2 separate regions of the Homo sapiens genome follow, and region 1 is linked to region 2. The links are contacts of gene promoters, found by promoter capture Hi-C in human tissues and cell types (Jung and others, 2019). All regions are on one chromosome and are shown on one strand. Each heading gives the region's core, a stretch centred on a gene start or on the middle of the fragment in contact. The rest is flanking DNA. Distances are from core to core; before and after follow the strand shown. Region 1 overlaps MAPK8IP3 (mitogen-activated protein kinase 8 interacting protein 3). Region 2 holds the start of NDUFB10 (NADH:ubiquinone oxidoreductase subunit B10).

Region 1 (6,859 bases), core at 2,322-4,821, 200 kb after region 2:
GGGCTGCCCCCCTGACCCCGGCGGCCCCAACACTGTCCCCATCATGCAGAACAAAGCAAACGGCTCATGAAGCAGGAGACCATGTCGGGGTGGAGGAGCGACGCACGCTGGAACGGGGCCTCAGCCTTACCAAAGAAATCATCGCGCACTAGGGAGCCGTCCCCGTCCCACAGGAGATGGGCAACCAGGGCGGGAGGAGAGGGAGAAAGGGAGAGAAGAGAAGCGCGTTAAGCCCGTGTGGACAGCAGGCTGGGAGGAATTCAGAGCTGGGTCTGCTGGGTTAGGGTGGGTGCAGGAGGGAGTTAGGAGGGCAGGAGATGGGATGGAGCCAGCTATTCCTTCTGGAAAGTTTATCCTTGGGGTTACATGAAGACTGCCAGGCCAGTGTCACCTGTGGAGCAGGAAGCTAACATCTCACCCCAAATTCTGGGCTGGGTGGGGCTGAGGGCAGAAGGCACCCCTGTGGGGATGGGCTGTGCCTGGAGGCTGGGGGGCTGCATCTGGACAGCCTCTGGGTGGGGCCTCGGAGCCTCCTGCTGTGCAGCCAGAGAGCAGGACTCGGCCTGTCCACCCACGTGGGGAGGGGACCCCGGGCTGGGCTTCGTAGGGGCTTCAAGGACCCCTGACTTCTGGGGTGTGCCTGACAGCAGGGGAGGCCCCAGAGCTGGCCTTGGCCATGTCCAGTCACTGCCGTGCGTGGCTTAGGGCTCCGCAGGGCCTTCAGAAATGGCCCGCGGGGGACTCCTCAGGCTGGGGGGGTTGGATATCCAGGTCATTGTCAAGTGGCTGGTGGAGCAAACCGAACAAGCTTCCGAGCGGCGGTGGCTGCGAGCAGAAGCAGAGGCGCTGCGGCGACGTGGGGGGCAGTCCACACAGCCACGGTGACGGGATAGCTCGGGGCATCCCCCGTCCACCCACTCCCCCCGTCACACAGAGGGGAGACAGACAGGAGAGTGAGATACTCACCTGAGAACTCCCCTGGCGAGTCCAGCGACGCACAGAGAGGCAGGGGAAGGAAGGGACAAAGGTCAATTAGGGACTGGAACTAACAATACATTCTTATTACAGAAAACCCAGCAATGATTCGGCTGCTCCCATGTTGCAGGGCAGGAGAGAGAGGGAGCAGCCTCCAGCAGGTCCCGGTGCCCCGTGTGCCCAGGCAGAGGCCTGCAGGGAACCAGGCCCAGGCGCCGTGGTCCAGCCCAGGGCTGTGTTGCCGAGCCCTGACCCGGAAGCCTGCTGCCCTCTGCTCCCATCGCCCATCAGGAGGGCAGGCCCCCCGCAGCCCCCATGATGCAGGCCTGTGAAGAGGAGAGTGTGTGTGGCAGGGTGTGGCAGGTACCCAGTCTCCAAAAGCCCCCCAGCGTGGGCGAGGGAGAGAGCGGCGAGGGAGACACCGCAGACGCAGGCCTGGAGCTGGACTCCTAGGCTTCTGGGTCAGCCTGGGTAGGGCAGGACCTCGGTGAAGGATGACTGAAGTCACAATGGGAGCAAGGGCCCCACTGTGGAGGGCAGAGAGAACATGCCAGAAAGCAGAGGAGGGCTGGGGAGCGTGGGGCGGGCGAGGCATCCTCACTGGGTCCTGGCCCCTCCCTGCACAGGAGGCTGGCGAGGGAAACGCTCTGCGGGAAAACACCACTTCCTCCAACAGAGGTGAGGACGCGGTTCTCTTCTACTTGGTTGTTTCACACAGAAAGGAAAATGGCATTAAAAAGTCACTTGAGCAGGGCGTGGTGGCTCACGCCTGTAATCCCAGCACTTTAGGAGGCCGAGGCGGGCGGATCACAAGGTCAGGAGATTGAGACCATCCTGGCTAATGCGGTGAAACCCCGTCTCTACTAAAAATACAAAAAATCAGCCAGACCTGGTAGCGGGCACCTGTAGTCCCAGCTACTCGGGCGGCTGAGGCAGGAGAGTGGCTGAACCCGGGAGGCAGAGCTTGCAGTGAGCTGAGATCACGCCACTGCACTCCAGCCTGGGCGACAGAGCAAGACTCCGCCTCAATTAAAAAAAAAATGTCACTTGATTTAGATGACAAAACGGCTGTTTGTTATCGGAATTCCAATAATAAAGCAATTCCCAATTCGAGAGCAGATGTCCTTCTCTCTCATCTCGGCTTCCCAGGGCAACCACTGCTCACGGCCAATATTCTCCTCTCAGGTTTCCTTCTAGATAAGCAACAGGTTTCAAAGAACAAAAACGGGACCCCATTATCCATCTCTCTGGGAGGCTTCCTGTGTTCCACTCAGCACTTTTATGGGACTTTCCTGTGCTGAGGTTCCTGGATGCCTTTATTTATTTTTTGAGACGGGGTCTCACTCTGTTGCTCAGGCTGGAGTGCAGTGGCACTATCATAGCTTACTGCAACGTTGACCTCCCAGGCTCAAGAGATCCTCCCACCTCAGCCTCCTGAGTAGCTGAGTCTACAGGTACATGCCACCACGCCCGGCTAATTTGTGTGTGTGTGTGTGTGTGTGTGTGTGTGTGTGTGTGTGTGTGTGTTTTAGTAAAAATGAGGTCTCACTATGTTGCCCAGGCTGGTCTTCAACTCCTGGGCTCAAGCAATCTGCCCACCTTGGCCTCCCAAAGTGCTGGGATTACGGGTGTGAGCCACTGTGCCTGACCCCGGTTGCTTTTTTTAGATGGGGTCTCGTTCTGTCACCCACGTTGGAGTGAAGTGGCGCGATCCACCTCCCAGGCTTAAGCAATCCTCCCCATCAGCCTCCCAAGTAGCTGGGGCCATGGGTGCACACCACCATGCCCAGCTAAGTATTTGGTAGAGACGGGGTTTTGCCATGTTGCCCAGGCTGGTCTTGAACTTCTCAGCTCAAATGATCCACCTGCCTTGGCAGGCATGAGCCACCGCCCCTGGCCTGGTTGCTTTCAATGCCCTGTAGTGTTTCTCTATGGGAATATCTCATCATCTGTCACTGTACCCGCTCCCCCAAGACTTGGGGTCCCTGTGTGAGGGCTTGAGGTACTTTTCAGCCCTGTGACTGCCCGACTGCTCCCTCGAAGGAGCATCTCCAGCTGCTGGTCCACCACCATTACCACCCGCCAGTGCTCGGTGGGGCTGCACCCATCACCCCTGGCTGGCACGTAGGGCAGCACCTGCTCCACCCTAGTCAGCCTCGATTGTCTTATTTTCAATCTTTTAGGGAAAAAGTTTTCTTGATTTTCTCTTTATTTCTTTATTATTTCCGAAATTGAGCATCTTTTCAGATGTTTATTGGTATAGCCTATAAACTTCCTTTTCCTTTTTTTTTTTTTTTTTTGAGAAAGACTCTCACTCTGTCACCAGGCTGGAGTGCAACGGCGCGATCTTGGCTCACTTCACTGCAACCTCCACGTCTCGGGTTCAAGCGATTCACTTGCCTTAGTCTTCTGAGTAGCTGGGATTACAGGCATGTGTCACCAGGCCCAGGTAATTTTTGTATTTTTAGTAGAGATGGGGTTTCACCATGTTGGCCAAGATGGTCTCGATCTCTTGACCTCGTGATCCGCCCACCTTGGCCTCCCAATGTGCTGGGATTACAGGCATGAGCCACCGCACCCGGCCCCTTTTCCAGTTCTACTATCCTTTGTTGACGTTCTTATTTTTCTGAGACAGGGTCTTGCTCTGTCCCCCACGCTGGAGTGCAGTGGCACAATCATGGCTCACTATATCCTTGAACTCCCAGGCTCAAGTGATCCTCCCACTTCAGACGCCCAAGTAGCTAGGACCACAGGTGCCAGCACACCCGGCTGCATTCTGTTGTCCTCGTAATTGTGTACTTAGATCTTTAATCCACCTGGAAATCACTGCTGTTTACGGGGAGGTCAGGCTTAGACTTCATTTTACACCAGCAGCAACTAAGGCAGTACATTTACTGACTCATCTGCCCGTTTTCCACGGTTTGAGATGCCATACTTGTCATACATAGATGAATTCCCCATGGCTCCAGGTCTGTCTTGGCTCTTGGCCCTGAGCTCATGAGCTCGTATCACAGGTTTGTTGCTGCCTGCCTCAACTGCCGCAGCTTTATGTGGAATCCTGCAAGCTTTTTCTCTCCCCACATTTTCTGGGATATTCTCACATGTTTCCTCTACTGGATCAACTTCAGATCCATTCATAGAGTTCCAGAAAAATCTCCAACAAGCATGTGGGTATTTTTACTGGTAATGAACGGATTCCTGTGGGAACGGTGGGGCTGCCTGTCATGTCAGCAGACAGCTCACAGGGTGTGTCTTCAGGTCCGGGCACGTGGCAACACCCTCTGCGTGTACAGCTTCTTTTATGTCTTTCAATGGTGCTTCTGAATCTTACACAGGCTTGTCTTTTCTCAAGGTTATTTGTGGATATTTTCTTCTTCTTTTTTTTTTTTTTTGAGACGGAGTCTCGCTCTGGAGTGCAGTGGCATGATCTCAGTTCACTGCAACCCCCGCCTCCCAGGTTCAAGTGATTCTCCTGTCTCAGCCTCCTGAGTAGCTGGGACTACAGGGCCCGCCACCACACCCGGGTAATTTTTGTATTTTTAGTAGAGATGGGGTTTCACCACGTCGGCCAGAGTGGTCTCGAACTCCTGACCTTGTGATCCGCCCACCCTGGCCTCCCACAGTGCTGGGATGACAGGCATGAACCACTGTGCCCGGCCTATTTGTGGACAGTTTCTACATCTGGCTACTACATCGGTGGAATCTCTCCTGAGGGCTGCCTCGTCCATGCAGAGCAGAGCGGAGAGAAAGATCAGCTGCGTGGATTCCAGATTCCGCTCAGCAATGCAAGGCACATAGTATAACTTCTCTGAGTATTAGTCATTTGTGAAACAGAAAAATAAGTTCCTTAGTGAATATTTGCTGTGAAATTCCCACCAGGTAGTGCGGTAATAGCTGGTACAGCTCCCAGCACCAGCGACATACTCAGTGAGTATTAATTCCCTTACTCCCTATTAGGCCAATTTTTTTTTTTTTTTGAGACAGAGTTTCGCTCTTACTGCCCAGGCTGCAGTGCGGTGGTGCGATCTCGGCTCACTGCAACCTCTGCCTCCCAGGTTCAAGCAATTCTCCTGCCTCAGTCTCCCAAGTAGCTGGGATTACAGGTACCTGCCACTGCACTCAGTTAATTCTTTTGTATTTTTAGTAGAGATGGGGTTCACTATCTTGGCCAGGCTGGTCTTGAACTCCTGACCTCATGACCCACCCGCCTCGGCCTCCCAGAGTGCTGGGATTATAGGCGTGAGCCACTGTGCCCGGCCGGTCCTAGTATACCAATTCTAAGACGTACATTTTTTTCCTCATGTTAACATTTCTGAAATTTCAGTAGGTCTTAAACAATCACTGTCACATTATAGTTTAATTTGCAGCAGTTTTTTCTTTCTTGAAGATTCCTAAAATAATGGTACGTGGGGCTGGGCACGGTGGCTCACGCCTGTAATCCCAGCACTTTGGGAGGCCGAGGTGGGCGGATCATGAGGTCAGGAGATCGAGACCATCCTGGCTAACATGGTGAAACCCCGTCTCTACTAAAAAATACAAAAAATTAGCCGGGCATGGTGGCAGGCACCTGTAGTCCCAGCTACTCGGGAGGCTGAGGCAGGAGAATGGCGTGAACCCAGGAGGCGGAGCTTGCAGTGAGCTGATATCGTGTCACTGCACTCCAGCCTGGGCAACAGAGCAAGACTCCGTCTCAAAAATAAATAAATAAATAAATAAATAATGGTATGTGGGCTGGGTGCAGTGGCTCACACCTGTAATTCCAGTGTGATTTGGGAGGCCAAAGTGGGAGGATCACTTGAGTCTAGGAGTTTGAGACCAGCCCTGGCAACACAGCAACAGCCTACCTCTATAGGAAACAAACGAACGAACAAACAAAAAAGTCTTAAAATTGGTGTTGTCTGAGATTCGATGGAATACAACAGATGCCCGACCTGGGCTCTTTTTATTTCTCCATCACCAAAGGAACTCAGAGTAAAAATGCTGAGAGAGGTGCAGGGCCGCCCACGTAGACGCTGGACGGAGGGATGTCGCTCTCCACCTGCCGACTTTTGGCAGAAGCACCCTCCCGTCACGTGCAAAGCTGACGTGTTTCTGAAATGATGCTCTTTCCCAGATCTGTGCAGGCTCCAGGCTCTCCCCTGCTTGGCAGCCACACAAGGGCGTACTCCTTTTCCTGCTGTCTTCAGGAGTTCATGCCCATTCTGCAGCTGAGCTGGACATGGGGCGAGTTGATTAGGGCAGAGGGGCGCAGGTCCCAGCTCATTTGTCCATCCTGGTTGCCAGAGAGCAGGCTCCTCTGTTTCAAAAACCTTCCATCAACAGATTGCAGCAGCAGGAGGTCCCCACTCATCAGGACTGCCTGACTTTTTCTTTTCCTTCTCTCTTTTTTTTTTTTTTTTTAAGAGACAGGGCCTCACTCTGTCACCCAGGCTGGAGTGCAGTGGTGTGCTCACAGCTCACTGCAGCCTCAAACTCCCAGGCTGAAGTGATCTTCCCACTTCAGCTTCCCAAGTAGCTGGGACTTACAGGTGCACACCACCATGCCTGCCTAATTTTTTTATAAAATGTTTTGTAGAGATGGGGTCTCGCTATGTTGACCAGGCTGGTCTTGAACTCCTAGGCGCAGGTGATCCTCCTGCCCTGGCCTCCCAAAGCTCTGGGATTACAGGTGTGAGTGACTGTGCCTGGCCTCCCTGCCTTTCTTATACGCATTACGTTTAAGGCTCTGGAAAGGCACCAAAAGGTCTGTTACTCCCAAGAGCAGCCTGTCGTGCCAGCCTGAGCTCGGCGATGCCCAGATGACCAGCACCCTGCAGAGTAGGGTGGCAGAGCCCAGAGTGCACGGAGGGCGTGGAACGCATAGTGACTTGCAGCCTCATCGTGG
Region 2 (2,548 bases), core at 1-2,500:
GGCTCCAACAGGGAGCCTCCAGCAAGCAGAACTTACCACCTTACGGCCTCAGCTTCCTCACTGGGAAATGAACGAGCTAAAAGGAGAGCTCGAACATCCAGACACATAGGACAGACATGCTCTACAACTGCTACAAAAGAGAGGGAGCTGGGTCCGCTGTTGCACGGTTTCCAGATCTTTGGGGGTTTGATTTGGAGACTTCACCCTCTTACGGAAGAACCACCAGAGCATGCTATGCACCCCAAGTGTTCAAAAAGAACTGAACCAGGCTGGACACGGTGGCTCAGGCCTGTAATCCCAGCACCTGGGGGCCAAGGTGGGAGGATCACCTGAGGTCAGGAGTTCGAGACCAGCCTGGCCAACATGGTGAAACCCCGTGTCTACTAAAAATATAAAAATTAGCTGGGCGTGGTGGTGGTGCGCCTGTAATCCTAGTACTGGGGAGGCTGAGGCAGGAGAATCGCTTGAACCCGGGGTGGGGCAGAGGTTGCAGTGAGCCGAGATCGCGCCACTGCACTCCAGCCTGGGCAACAGAGTGAGACTGTCTCAGGAAAAAAAAAAACAACAAAAACTGAACTGGGCATTTTCCCGGTTCGTTCCAGAGATGCTGAATTTGGGCATCTCGGCCATCACCCCGACACTTGGTCATCCGGCAGAGAGACATTTGAGAGAGGCCTGAGGCCAGCGGTGCAGTGGAGGGGTGCCCGGGGCGGCGGGGGGCGGAGAGCAGTGCGGGGTCCTGGGGCAGTGGGCGCTGGGTGCGGCAGGGAGGGAAGAGTCCTGGGAAGAAGCGGGGCATCCCGGGGTGCAGGGGAGAGTAAGGGATCCTGGGAGGTGAGGTCCGGGGTGCAGTGGGAGGCCAAAGGAGGCGACGGAGCTCGGAGGTCTCCGGGGGTGGGGAGTTGTCCCCGGGGTGCAGCGGGGGGCGGTCTCAGGCAGACGGGACCCCGGAGGCATTGGAGGATCCAGGCAGGGTGTGGGATCCAGGGGTCCCCAGAGGCCGGCGAGGGAGCCCCGGGCTGGGGCTTCGTACCTCTCACGAGGGTCACGGGTCGGTCCACGATGAGGTCGAACGCTTTCATCATGTAGACGATGGGATTGGGCTGCACCGGCGTGCGGCGCGGGGGCTCAGGGTACACATCCTTGTCCCAGCTGTCCGGCATGGCGGCGGCGGGCGCGGACTCCGCTCCCGGACGCGCTGCCCTGGCCTCTACCTCCGTCCGGGTCCCGCGGCCTAGGTCGCCCGCTACAGAGGACGCCGAGGGCGGCTGCGTCTGCGCGCTGGCGCCGCGATGCACCATGGGACTTGTAGTTCCCCGGCTCCGCCGGGCGCGGCCGGGACCCGCCTCGCCGCAGGGCGCCCCCGCGTGGGGCCTCCGTTCTCGGTCTGTGCCGAGCGCCTACGCGGTGCTGGTCGCTGGTCTGGGCGCCTGGGAAGCAGCCGCGAACCGGACAGATTCCTGCTTACGATGAAAGAAACAGACAAAAGGCAACTGACATAAGGAATAGGAGGGGGTCATTCGGTTCCCACTGCGCGCCAGGCACTGTGCTGAGTGCAGCAGGGAATAAGATAAACTGTGATGGAGAACACAGGCCGTTAGAGCGCACACGACAAAGTGAACAAATAGCACGCGATTCCAAACACCCTACTCCTCCAGGAAGCTTTCCTGGATTGCCTAGTCCCTACAGACTTCTCTGGGCCCCGCTCTCTACAAGGGCCCCTCATGGACTGGCTGGTGCCAGTTAACTTGGGAGCCTGTCTGGGGGAGGGCAGGGAGCAGACCAGGAGGCAGGGCTTGCCCTTAGGCGGCTCATAGGGAGAAGGCACCTACCCTGGGCACAGGGCCCTCTGGCCGGCTTTGATGGTTCCATCCTGGCCCTGGGGCACTCTGGTGCTTCTAGGCAGCTCCACTGAGCAGGGTCCTGCTGGCCACATCTTCAGTCTCCACACCTGGCACGGCCCCTGGCTGCTATCCAGGGGGGACACTGGTCATGTCCTGTCCTGAGGTTGAGGCCAGCGACACAGAACCATCAACCCTACAGACAAACAGTGAGAGGTGACAGCGTGCTGGCAGTCCTCAGAGCCCTCGCTCGCTCTCGGCGCCTCCTCTGCCTGGGCTCCCACTTTGGCGGCACTTGAGGAGCCCCTTTCTGGGCTGGCCAAGGCCAGAGCGGGCTCCCTCAGCTTGCGGGGAGGTGTGGAGGGAGAGGCGCAGGCGGGAACCGGGGCTGCGCGCGGTGCTTTGCGGGCCAGCGCGAATTCCAGGTGGGTGTGGGCTCGGCGGGCCCCGCACTCGGAGAGCCTGGCCGGCCCTGCCGGCCCTGGGCAATGAGGGGCTTAGCACCCGGGCCAGCGGCTGCGGAGGGTGTGCTGGGTCCCCCAGCAGGCCGGCCCACCGGCGCTGCGCTCGATTTCTCTCGCCAGGCCTTAGCTGCCTCCCCGCGGGGCAGGGCTCGGGACCTACAGCCCGCCATGCCTGAGCCTCCCCCACTCCGTGGGCTCCTGTGCGGCCCGAACCTCCCCGACGAGCGCCGCCCCCTGCTCCAG

Evidence for each region. The method cuts DNA at HindIII sites, captures the fragments that hold promoters and counts their contacts. A contact is called where the count stands out against the background at its distance.
Region 1: a fragment that was not itself captured here is called in contact with the fragment with the promoter of NDUFB10 in region 2 in 1 of the 25 tissues and cell types used here (thymus).

The regions. Positions count from the first base shown.
Region 1 is chr16:1,752,267-1,759,125 of GRCh38, reverse strand. MAPK8IP3 (mitogen-activated protein kinase 8 interacting protein 3) reads right to left here. Exons shown (of 32, transcript NM_001318852.2): 9 at 967-978; 10 at 131-148. Among named protein-coding and RNA genes, the nearest start is that of NME3, 16 kb to the left of the region's middle. RefSeq lists an enhancer at 6,454-6,859. The HindIII fragment of the contact is 7,397 bases long and covers 1-6,859 here.
Region 2 is chr16:1,958,240-1,960,787 of GRCh38, reverse strand. NDUFB10 (NADH:ubiquinone oxidoreductase subunit B10) reads right to left here and starts at 1,250. Exons shown (of 4, transcript NM_004548.3): 1 at 1,034-1,250. The coding sequence starts at 1,163. RefSeq lists silencers at 621-730, 1,161-1,470 and an enhancer at 2,193-2,548. The HindIII fragment of the contact is 2,906 bases long and covers 1-2,283 here.